2 separate regions of the Homo sapiens genome follow, and region 2 is linked to region 1. Evidence: promoter capture Hi-C in human tissues and cell types (Jung and others, 2019). All regions are on one chromosome and are shown on one strand. The core of a region is centred on a gene start or on the middle of the fragment in contact, and the rest is flanking DNA. Distances in the headings are between cores, read along the strand shown.

Region 1 (6,018 bases), core at 1,998-4,497:
CTCAGGTATTCCTTTACACCAATGCAAACAGACTAACGTACTATGTGATAAGTGTATGTTCCATGGCCCTGTCTATTGTTAATAATGAGTCATTATAGCAAATAAAATAAATATTAATAAATGTATACTGAGTACGCATGTTAGCACCTCCTTCCTCTCTCTTGCTCCCTGTCTCACCGTGTGACACTGCCTGCTCTCCCTTTGCCTGCTGTTACGATTGTAAGCTTCCTGAGACTCTTACCAGAAGCTTAGCAGATGCTAGCACCATGCCTGTACAGCCTGTAGAATCATGAGCAAAACAAACCTCTTTTCTTTTTTTGTTTTTTTTGTTTGTTTGTTTGTTTGTTTTTAAGACAGGGTCTTGCTCTGTCACCAAGGCTGGAGTGCAGTGTCATAATCATGGCTCACTGCAGCCTTGATCTCCCGGTCTCAAGCCATCCTTTCGCCTCACCCCACGAGCACCTGGGACTGCAGGTGCGCACTGCCATACCTGGCTAATTTTTGTACTTTTAGTAGAGACAGGGTTTTGCCATGTTGCCCAGGCTGGTCTCCAACTCCTGAGCTCAAGCAATCCCCCTGCCTTGGCCATCCAAAGTGCTGGAATTACAGGCATGAGCCACCATGCCAGCCAAACCTCTTTTCTTTATAAATTACTAGGTCTCAGGTATTCCTTTATAGCAATGCAAATGGACTAACACACCTTGCATGTGCACTTAGAGGGAAGGGAGGTGCCTAAGTGGGGAGGTTGTACTGAGAAAGGAAATCATAAACTAGCCTCTGACAGTCAAAGAGATGACCACAACAGCATGCAAGAATGGAGAAGGAGAGAACAGATGAGTCAGGTGAGCTGGGCTGTAATTAGTTTCCACAGAGTCTGGTCATCAAACAGGCATTTACATACTAAGAGCAATGACACACATACCCCCTCAAATGATGACCTATATCAACCAGGAAGTCTTATTCTTTCAGGCTTTTGACTGACTTTGGAAATCCTCCCTTTTCTGTAGTCCAGGCCTCCTTTCCAACTCTCTTGGAATGTTAGAGACTTGGTATATTTCTAAGCAAAAATAAAACAAAGCAAAAACAATATGAATTCCAGGGAAAACATTTAAGTACATGGAGAATGGAAAAAAGAAAATTTGAAATAGTGATTTATTTCAGCTAGGACATATATGTGTTTGCAGGGAGGGGAGGCTCAAGGCTTGTAAGTAACTTCGACTGTGATGTTTATGTTTTATTTCCTGAACTGGATGTTAGGTACGGTTATGTTTGTTATGTCAGTGTATCTGAAATATTTCATAATTTACAAAAAGAAAAAGTTTTTGAGAGGAAAGGGAGGAAGGGAAAGATGATTTTTGTCTATGTCCCTGCTTCTACCTGGTAAAAGATAGGGGTTCCTCCTAGTTATCCTAATTTTATTATAACTGAAAAACTGTGTCTGTTCACAAATAAGACTGTTGCCTACTATCCTCTTGGAAGTTAATTCTCATAAGTCAATTCATTTTTTTAGCAAATGTTCAAATCACACACCTATGGAGCTGGATCAACTTCATTGACTTCATCCATGGGTGTGACTCTGGTTGCACTGAACTGCTGATTTGGAGATGCCCTTCCTGTTTTGTTAGTATTATGACATCATATATGTTTGAATGACACACCAGGGAAAGAGGTCATAGCCCGAAGTGCTCATTCAGCTGTGATATCCATAGGCTGCTGATAGGGTACTGGGTTATCCCAGGCTTCCTCCAACCTCCTTCCTATCCATTAGTCCTGCTCCACTTCATCTTTACCTTGGCCCCAGGATCACTGCCCTTTTTATTTCCTATCCAACCATGATCACAGAAAGAGAAAAGATGAAAGCCATGTGTCGTCTTGTTATAAAACATATTAATAGCTTTAAGTAGGAAATGAAACAGAAAAGGACGAATCTAATAGCTAGAATTACACTTGCAAATTATCTGTGTATTTCATGATTCCCACTTGAGATTCCTTCCAAAATAGAGGCGGATTGGCATTATGCTGATTCATAGCAACCTTGATGTTATACTGCCTGAATTAAAATCTCTGCCCTGCCTCTTCCTAGCTACATGGCCTTGAAAAAGATTTTTAACCTCCCTGTAAAATTTAGATATTAACAAATGCCTACTTTTTTAAGTTAAAGACTAAATTAAAAGATACATGAAAATGCTCAGCACAATACCTAGCAAATAGCAAGAGCTTAATACATTTTGGCAATTATTGTGTACATTGATTTTAAATTTTCTCCCTGACCTTTTAATGCTAGTAAGTGGAATACCTCAAATCCTGATACCTATCAAGGATAATCTACCTGTAGGAAAAACCAGCTTCCAGGCAAAAATCATATCTGTTAAGAGTGGTCTCTGTACCTGGTGGGAAATTTCTTCCCAAAAATAGTAGATTCTTCTACCTACTCTCTTCTCCCTACGAATGCCAAGTATCAGTCCATGAAAGGAGACAAGAGTTGCTAAACTGGTTGGTAGTTTGTTTTGTTTTTATTTCATAATATGTATTGCCACCTTCCATGAACAGCCAAAAGAGAGCAGAGGACCAAATGACAGAGTGCATGCTCTCTCCTTTCAAGCTGTCCAGTCACTCTTTCATCAGGACACGGACCTCTTAGGGGATGAATGGTTTTATTTCCCCCAGAAATAAATTAGGCCAAGGAGATTGTTGGCAAGCACTGGGGCGAGACTGGCCCAACTACAGCATCCCTAGCCTGGGGACACCTTCTTCAGTGGACATGAATGGAATTGCTAGGCTTATGAGCTAGGATTAGGCTTGGGGAAGAAAGTGACTTTCAACATCTAGAAAAGCTAGCAGCAAAACTGAACACAAATGAGTTTAGCCTAGAGAATTCAGGGGAAAACTAAGCTCCAAGCGGAAGAAGGTAGTTCTAGATGAAAAACCTGTTTCACATAGACCTATGGAAAAGCACACTGCCCAGAGGACTGTCTGCGTTCCTTTATATCAACATTAAATATATATACTATCTCTGCCTACTCCCTCCCTGCCACCTGTCCTTCCAGTCTCAGCCCAAACCGGCTCCTCCTCCTTCCAGCCCTCCTTTTTTAAAGAGCTCTTTATTAGCTCTAAACAGGAAAGGGGAGGGTAGGAGATGATTGGCTAAGAGGGAACAGCACCACCCTGCTCATTCCCCTCCCATTCCCTCCCTGAGGAAACAGCTGGAATGAGAGGTAGGGAGGGGAGGCTAGGATTGGCTGAGTCAGTGGCAGGGTGGGGGCCAGGCAGCACAGATGAAGCATTTACCTATCTAGGTAAGTCAGGAGGAGCTCAAAAGGAGAAGAAAACAGTAGGAGGCAGGGGAAGCAGCCTCTGTCTCCATCTCTGCCCTTTGAAACAAAAGGGTATTTCTTTTCTCTCTTCAGCCCCCAACCCAGTGGAGGTGAGTTAATCACTAACCAACTATTGCTTATCCTATAGCAATAGGAAGGGGTTTCATGGGAAATCAGAGCTACAGGGGAGGGGAGGTGTCCCTCTATACCCCAGCTAGGGAGATTTCCTCTCTGTTCCTCAATTCTCTGAGTCCATTCTGGGATCAGATCAGGTTGGTAGCAACTTGAGATTGTAGTGTTTTTGTGGAGACTGGGGCTGGGAGGCACCTTCTTTTTCATTTATCCCTTTAGGTTGGATAGGCATATTGTGCAAACAACAAGAAAAAGAAAATAGATTTGTTTTGGAAATTTCCATCTCTGAACAATTGAAATTGAGTTGTGATTTTAGAAAAGAACAGTTGAAATAGAGGGAGTCAAAATGGGGGAGAGTATCTTGGTTTTCCATAGCGACTGTAACAGGAAATTCTCCCGTGGCTTTACCAACTCGGTGTCGATCTTTATTTAAATAATGGGTGCAATGTGTGTGTGTGTTTGATCATGCTCATGTGATAATGGAGCTCTCTGTGTACAGGTGTGTTAGGCATGAGCTGTACTAGGTTGTTTGTAAAGGGATATGAGGTTGGGGCACATGGAGAAAACTTCAGCTACCAGCTCATCTTTGGAAAACCCATGGATAATCTAGCTGCAAAGTCAAGTTTATTTGGATTCTACTCAATTAACTTTCTGACTCAGCCTGTTAATAGACACAGAGACTGGCAAACAGAAAGCTACCTGGCTGTGCCGAGCCTCACCCACATGAATATTTCGTGGCTGCATGTCAAGTCTAGTTAGAGTTCCAAGTGGGGCTCAAGCCAAGGTAGTGTGGCAGAGTCCACAGACAGAGAAGCAGACCAGGGTGGTGGCTTTGTTTGTTTTCCTGCAGGTGTCCCAGTTGGCAGTTTGTGTGGCAGATTTACCTGCAGAAGGAAGGCAGATGTAGGAGTCGAGTCAGAGTAGCAAGTTGCCTCTCCATTATCCATCTTGGGGGGTTTAACCCTTTGGTCCCTAACTTTGACTCTTTTCCTCCTGCTGCAGAGAAGAGGGAAGTGGGAAGCCCTCAGTGCCAGGCTCAAGGGCCTGGCACACGCAGCCCTGAGTGAATATATGGGTTTTCCAGTCCTGGCAACTGGAGATTTAGGCTTGAGCTCACCTCACACCACAGAGCCAACACCCCACACTCACAGACTGAGGGCTGCCCTAGATGGTGAATTTAGGAATAAAGACCACTGGCAGTGTCTAACAAAGCTCTGCTATGCAGAGGGTATTTCTACCTGCTCCTTCCCTCAAACACACTGGTGAAAGGGAAGATGATAATGTTGCCTAAACACACACAGAAACTTGCCCATGTGTTCATGGAGACAGATATGCAAACTGTGCAAGTTTTAGTCATTCTGCTATTTTTCTTAGGATATTTTCCAGCCCAAGGCACATTTCTGGGTAGTCAACAAGAAGCAAAGACACCTGGATTGAAAGACAGGAAACCTCTTTGACTAGTAGGCAGAGAGGCAAAGCTCTTGGAGGACATGTGGGGGGTTCGTGGGAGGAGGATGAGAGGGACCTGGGTCTGATTAGAAGGTACAGACAAGCCAACCTGGAATGGAGCTGGAGCCCTCTCCCCACCCCACCATCTCCAGATGCCAGAACTTGAACTGTTCTTTATTTCCTCTCCTCCAAGGCTTGGCAGTATTTAGTATTTTAGTCAGTGGTGTAGTTAATATTTAATGTGTCTTTGGATGGGTGGCCCTGACTATAGGTGCTGCATATTTCTTAACCCATTCCCTCCTCCCGTTAAGTTCCCAAAGAGGTCAAGGGTTAAGATACCAAACTCTCACCTTGAGTGTTTTGTTTGTTTCTCAGTCTTCTTATCAGGGTTTCGATGGCTGCCCTGAAAGAGCCCCAAGGTTCAAGGTTGTGAAGTCGGTGAAAGGAAATGCAGCTTTCACCATTAAGATTCTTTAGGTCAGAAAACTAGGTATGGAGATGAGGTGACAGCGCCTCGCTCAGCTTTGGTTTCAGGTTCAGATTCCTCTGTGCAGGGATTATGTAATCCCTAAAGACATGATCTTCCTTGGCAGTTGGTGTCATTTCTTTACTGTAGAAATATCTGCTGTTGGGGCAATACACTGGTCTGGAAGTATAAAGCTGAAGCAGATGATTTGCAGGGTTTAAGGTATGAAGTAGAAGGAGAAGGGGGTTTTAAGGCTTTTAGTATTTTAGTCAGGGGTGGCTAGTAACCATTCTCGGGGGCATGCCCCTCTTGCATCCAGATAGTCCCTGAAATGCCCTGTGGAGGGCTGCCCTGTATATGCATGTATAGGTCATTCCCTGTTTCCCTTAGGAAGGGCTAGTGGTAAGAGCCATAACTTTCTCACCCGTAAAATGAAGAAAACGTCACATCCTGCCTATGTTTCCAGTTTATGCTGAAGATCGAATTAGCATATCTGAGAGTACTTTGCAAGCTATGGCATGCTGTGTTCTTGTGAAGCAGTGCTTTTCCTACCACTTTTATCTCTTCCAGCTACTTGAAGACATCCTAGGTTCTGAAACAAAAGTGTGATAAGCTTCCCTGGTAGGAAAGAGAGACTAGAAAACCTCTGTAAAGTCT
Region 2 (6,018 bases), core at 1,139-3,638, 600 kb before region 1:
TTTGCAGAGTTCGGGGATGAACGCTGCTGCCTCCTTGAGAATGTAAATGGATAGCCACTTCTTTAGGGTTTTCATGTGCATTATTGCTAATTGGCAGAGAAAAAAATAGAAAAACTGTCTTAATCATTTAAGTATCTGTTTTGAAAGAAATTAGTAATTTGCATTTTGAAATTTAAGGTATTATTTGCCTTAAGTTCCTGATATCTTTGCAAGACGTCTGAAAGGAAAATCATAACCAAATCTCATCTTTTAATACTAAGCAAAAACTTAGATTAGAAAATAATACTAAAATCATCCTATATTTTCTGTCAGAGTACTCTAAATTGTTTATAGGCAGATGTCCATGCCTTAACACATTTCACTATTTCTGACATAATTTTGATTAGTAAATAGGATTTACATCGAGATTTTGACACTTAAGCTGCACAACATGAATGACTTTGCACTGCAGTGTTACACGAGGCTTCCTTTTTCTCCTATAGTGAAGATATGTGTTCTGTTTTCTGTACAAGCAATATCCACGGTTAGGGGAGCAGCAGTAGCTGTCATGAAGGTATTTAAGAACTAACAGTAAAAAGAAATATTTACTCACTTTTTAATATCAGTAATAACAATCATGTGTAAATAATAGCTAACATTTTCTGACATGCATCATAAATGAGGCACTATGTTAAGTAAGGTAGGAACTATTATTATCTCCATTTCACAGGCAAGGAAAATGAAATTTACTGAGGATAAGTATCTTGCTCAGGGTCTCATAGAGAGTGAGTGACTGTGAACACAGGCCTTAGCGGTTGCAAAGCCCTCACCCTCACTTGGTATGGTACACTGCCTCTTTGGGGGTTAATAAACACTTCATCTTTTATCAATGAAATGATAAAACAGTACCAGTACCTGGAGATTTTATGTATGAGTTGGTATTAGGGATTTTAGAATGGAAGCTTGAAGAGTTAACTCACTTCAACATGTACCACTGTTTCCTCATCACTCAGTTATTCTTTACCATCTTATGGAAATTAGAATGACAGCATCATTTGAGAAAAAGAGGCAGACTGCTTCAGGGGGCAGAGTTTTCACAGGACAGGGAAGGCACACTTGAGATCCATGGATGAGGAAGAGTGGAGTGGTATATAGCCAGGTGGTATGACCTTCCAAGGAGTGGTGGTTAAGTGGTAAGATGAGTAGTGTTCTGAAGGTGGTCTTGGGTGATGAGTGGTACATGGGGTTTTGGAGAATATGATCTCGGTGAGTATATGTTGAATGAAGAGCTATTTGGTTAGTTACTGGTGGTTAATGTGAACATAGGAAAATTCAGGGAGACTTCACAGAGGATGGCCTTAAGTATTTTATCATTCTAAACATCACAACAATGGAAACTTTGAAATTTTGACTGTGTACAAGGCTGTTTTGTGTAGAAATGGGAGTGGGTACGAGGCAGTAACAAGAGGCAATAATGGGCTCTGAATGAAGAAGTCTAACCAGTATTATTCCTCACTGATGAGTGCATGACCTATCTTATGACCTATCTTATTTAACATTATCACAAATTATTGTTGTAAATACACAGTGAAATATCAAAACGTGCAGGCGCATATTTTTAACTAGTGAAATAACAAGGCAGTGAGATTAAATCACAGGAAGAACTTGCCAAGTCTGTGTGAAACGCCAGGAAATCTCAATATGGAAAGATGCCCTTAAAGAAATACCTTAATTTTTTATAGCCTAATGACTCAGAATAAAGAGTAAAAAAAGTAGAGATTGCATACGGTTCTCTAGAAAGATACTGGTTCAATATACCAAAGTAGCTAAAACAAACTCAGTAAAATATAGGGAGAAAAAGAATATTGAAAGAAAAAAGGAAAATACTTTAGGTTTGTACTATGTACAGTTCTGGATACTGAATTTCAGTAATATAGAGTCAGATTCAGAAATGGCAACTAACATTGTCAAAATACTAGCACAAAGAGTTCAAGATTTCCAGTTAAATAATCTGGACTAAAGGCCTAATTCCTAACAACTTCCTACTGGCTTTAAACAAGCCACTGAATTTCTTTGAACCTAGAGTGTTTTATGCTTTGGGATAACAATATGATTGGGCCTACCTACCTCACAGAGTTGCTTTGAGGACCAAAGAAGATAATAAATGGTAAATAAACCTATAAATAAACATGTTAACTCTTTTTGTAGATACATTAACCATTTCTACTCTTATTATTAATTTTGACTGCTGTACAAGTAGAGATTAAAAAATCATTAAATAAAAATTGCTTTGGGTGGATATAGGTGGTCCCTGCTCACAGGGGATCATAGTCCAGGGAGCAGGGATGGTGAGGAGAATAGTAGAGACCAAGAAGGCAGGAGATAGTAGTAATAGTGAGTGGAAAGGCCAAGGTGGAGGGTGCAGAGGAAATGGGCAGAGTAATTAGGTATTCTTAATCAGGGAAAGCTGAGGATTGAGAAGGCACATGAAATCAAGTGTGATATCGTTTAAGCATATGTGCTTACCAAATGCAGTGTTGGTACAATGGACTGAATGTTTGTATCTTTCCAAATTTATATGTTGAAAATTTATAGGATCTAATTACTATAGGATCTCAAAGGTGAGACCTTTGAGAAGTAATTAGATCATGAGAGCAGAGCCCTTGTGAATGGGACTAGTGCCCTTAGAAAAGAGACCAGGAGAGCTCCTTTACTCCTTTTCTCTGATTTGAGAACACGGAGAAAAGATTGAAGTCTATTAACTAGAAAGCGATCCCCACCAGACACTGAATTTGCAGTTGCCTTGACCTTGGACTCTCTACCCACTAGAACTATGAGAAAAAAATGCTTGGTTTTTAGAAATGACATAATGTTTTTTAGGGACATGGTCTTACCATATTGCCCAGGCTGGCCTTAAACTCATTGGCTCAAGCAGTACTCCTGCCTCAGCCTCCCAGATAGCTGGGACTATAGGCAGGTACCACTGCACCCAGCTTAAATGCTTATTGAATCCACCCAGTCTATGGAGTTTCTGTTATAACTGCCCAAGTATATATACCAACAGACTGAGACAGTTGGTATATTAGAACAAGGAGCAGCCTTGAAACCTGGAGTAAGTTTAGGACAAGTTAAAGACGCACTGTTCAACTTGGTAGAGAATTACGGCAGAAATTTCCCCTTGTGGTAACACTGTTAGTGGTGTGTAGCTCACTCATTCATTTGATAAATATTTATTGAGACTCTCTTTGTCCCAGGGACAGTTTAGATTTGTTGTGTATCCATTGGTGAAGATAGGACAAAAATCCCCGACTTCATGGAGGGAGAGAGAGAATAAACATGGAATGTAATTATTTAATTAATTATAATAAAAGAGAATAAGGCTATGAAAAAAATAAAGCAGGATAAGAGAGACTAGGAATGTGGGGGTGGGGTCATGTCATCTTTACTAGGATAGTTAAAGTAGACCTCCTTGAGGAGCATTTTAAAGAAGGTGAGATCATTTCTGTGTGTGTATTCCTTCTATTTCTCTATCACTTTAGTTTCTTTTCTTGTTTTATTTTATTTAATTTATTTATTTATGTTTTTCAGATGGAGTTTTGCCTTTGTTGCCCAGGCTGGAGTGCAGTGGCACAATCTCAACTCACTGCAACCTCCACCTCCTGGGTTCAAGCAATTCTCCTGCCTCAGCCTCCTGAGTAGCTGGGACTACAGGCATGTGCCACTACACCAGGCTAATTTTTGTATTTTTAGTAGAGACAGGGTTTTGCCATCTTGGCCAGGCTGATCTCCAACTCCTGACCTCAGGTGACCCACCCGCCTCAGCCTCCCAAAGTGCAGGGATTACAGGCCTGAGCCATCGCACCCAGCCTCATTTTAGTTTCTTAGTAAGTCTTCAGACTGCTTATGCAGCTTCTGAATTGTCTCCAGTGTTTGAGGTAGAAGTCAGCCTGCACCTCTCTAGGCCTGGTGTGACTGTGGCTCTCCCATAGAGCAGGCCATCTTGTTCTACACTATTCTATATCTGTCAGTCTTTTTTAGCTCCAGGATAAATGGCTCTTCTGACTTGGTGACCACTACGATACTCTCCACTCATATTCTGTGTTTCCCACATGGCTTCCTTCTTCTTTGCCATGAGGCCCTTTATGCCCTTGTCTTTCTGTGAGGAAAGCTTGAGCTCCAGATAAGGAATAATCAGCCCTCCTCACATAGCCACAATGACTTAGCTTATTGGCCACACCCACTCAAGGAGGTATGACTGCATGATTAATCAGCCCAACTCCTTCCGAAAGAAGGGACCTCTGCCTTCTGATTATTTAAGTTTATTACTTCTTTTTCCCAGTTTTAGCTATGTGTTATTTCTAACATGAAAATCAGTGGTGTTTTGTTAGATAAATGCACTCACTATGCTGAAACCACCTTTGCAAAGATTCTGAGAGTGAAAGAAATCTAACATGGCTGACTTCATCTTGCTTCTAGCCTCACAGGTGGGCCGGCTTTGCTCATTCCTGGGTGTAGGCCAAGCTAACCATGAAAGGAATTTAGTTTATAATGTAACTTTGGAGCAAGGATAATAACAGTCTCTTCCTAAAACTAGCTCTCTCCTTGCTCAGGACCTGAAACCTAATGAAAGGCCAAGAGATTAGGATTAGGAGAGGGACCTGAACTCTGCTAAAATATAGGCATAGGTTTTATAATCCATTACTGCTCAGAGATTTGTGACTTCCCTAATTGCTCCTATAGATAACATCACTATGTAGAATATAAGATTGGTCTTCTGAGATGTTTTTCAGGTTTTTGCATTTGGCAACTGACTGACTCTACCTGGACTTGTGACTCATGACTCAACTGGTCCTGTGGCCCCCAACCAGAGGTGGACACAGCACATGAGGAACATTTCCCACACCCCCATCCCCAACCAATCAGTAGTACCCATTCCCTAGCTCCCTTCCTACCAAATGATCTATAAAAACCCTAGCCCCTGTGTTCTTGGGGAGACTGAGTTGAGTGATAACTCCAGTTCTTCCACGTGACTGGCCTTGTATTAATTCATCTCTTTCTTTACTGCAATATGCCATTATCTCAGGGAACTGGTTTTGTCTGTATGACAGGCAGGAAGAACACATCAGGCAGTTACAATCCCAAGAAGTGAAACAGGTCAAAAGTAAAAGTTTAGAAAATGTTTAAAAACTTTCCTGGATTACACATATAGAATAGGTTTTAGTGTGGGTTACATAGATGTTTGGGAGGTTTACATCCCTGACCTTTAAGTCTAACGAGGATCATGATCTTTCTTTCTGCCACATTTCTGGTAGCCACTGGTCAGAGAGAGAATGGTTGTGCCATGGACATTACACTTTAAAGAATATGAAAAAAATAGGAGGCAGGTTTTACGAGATGGAAAACATGAAGAAATGGTATATGGTCTCAGGTTGCTTAGACTTTACAAGACAATCATTTCCAAAGAAATAATTTTATGAAATGGTTATTGAGTCATGTTTATGCCTGAAGGTGATTAATATGAGGAAATGATCTTAAATTATGTAGGTGAAACAAATCAATAGTTAGGCTTGGGAGTGTGACCCTCTAGTTGATTAACAAGGAATGGACCATAAGTAATGAAGAATGACATAGTTAGAAGGGTGGAGATAATCAAATATCTTCAAGATATTAAAGTATCTTGAATACTTCCAAGAAGAAGGGATAATCATTTCCCCTGTGTGGTTTTAACTAGAGACTGATATAGATACAGAAAATTAGAAGCCCCAACTCCTTTAATTCAGACGTAGTAGTAATTTTTTAAAAAATTAACTCACTAATTATATGGTACTTAATGAGAAACTTTAAGAGGAAAAATGTATTGACACAAGTACTTTGTTAAGGTAAAGTGCCCAGCTACTTACCTTTTCTTTTTGTAATGGAAAAGAGCAAAGAATATATGTCAAGCCGTAAAATATAGAGAACATTAGTTAGGAAGGATGGATATTTAAATTTAAATATCTACCAATTCAGTATTTTTCCATGAAATTGAGTTCCTGTCTA

What was found. Contacts are between HindIII fragments. The study calls those that stand out against the background at their distance.
Region 2: a contact is called between a fragment that was not itself captured here and the fragment with the promoter of C1orf116 in region 1, in 1 of the 25 tissues and cell types used here (spleen).

The regions. Positions count from the first base shown.
Region 1 is chr1:207,029,985-207,036,002 of GRCh38, reverse strand. It overlaps C1orf116 (chromosome 1 open reading frame 116), which reads left to right and starts at 3,247. Exons shown (of 4, transcript NM_023938.6): 1 at 3,247-3,424. It also overlaps a transcript of PFKFB2 not described here. The HindIII fragment of the contact is 7,217 bases long and covers 1-6,018 here.
Region 2 is chr1:207,624,585-207,630,602 of GRCh38, reverse strand. It overlaps CR1 (complement C3b/C4b receptor 1 (Knops blood group)), which reads right to left. Exons shown (of 47, transcript NM_000651.6): 46 at 1-86. Among named protein-coding and RNA genes, the nearest start is that of CR1L, 18 kb to the left of the region's middle. The HindIII fragment of the contact is 5,483 bases long and covers 1-5,129 here.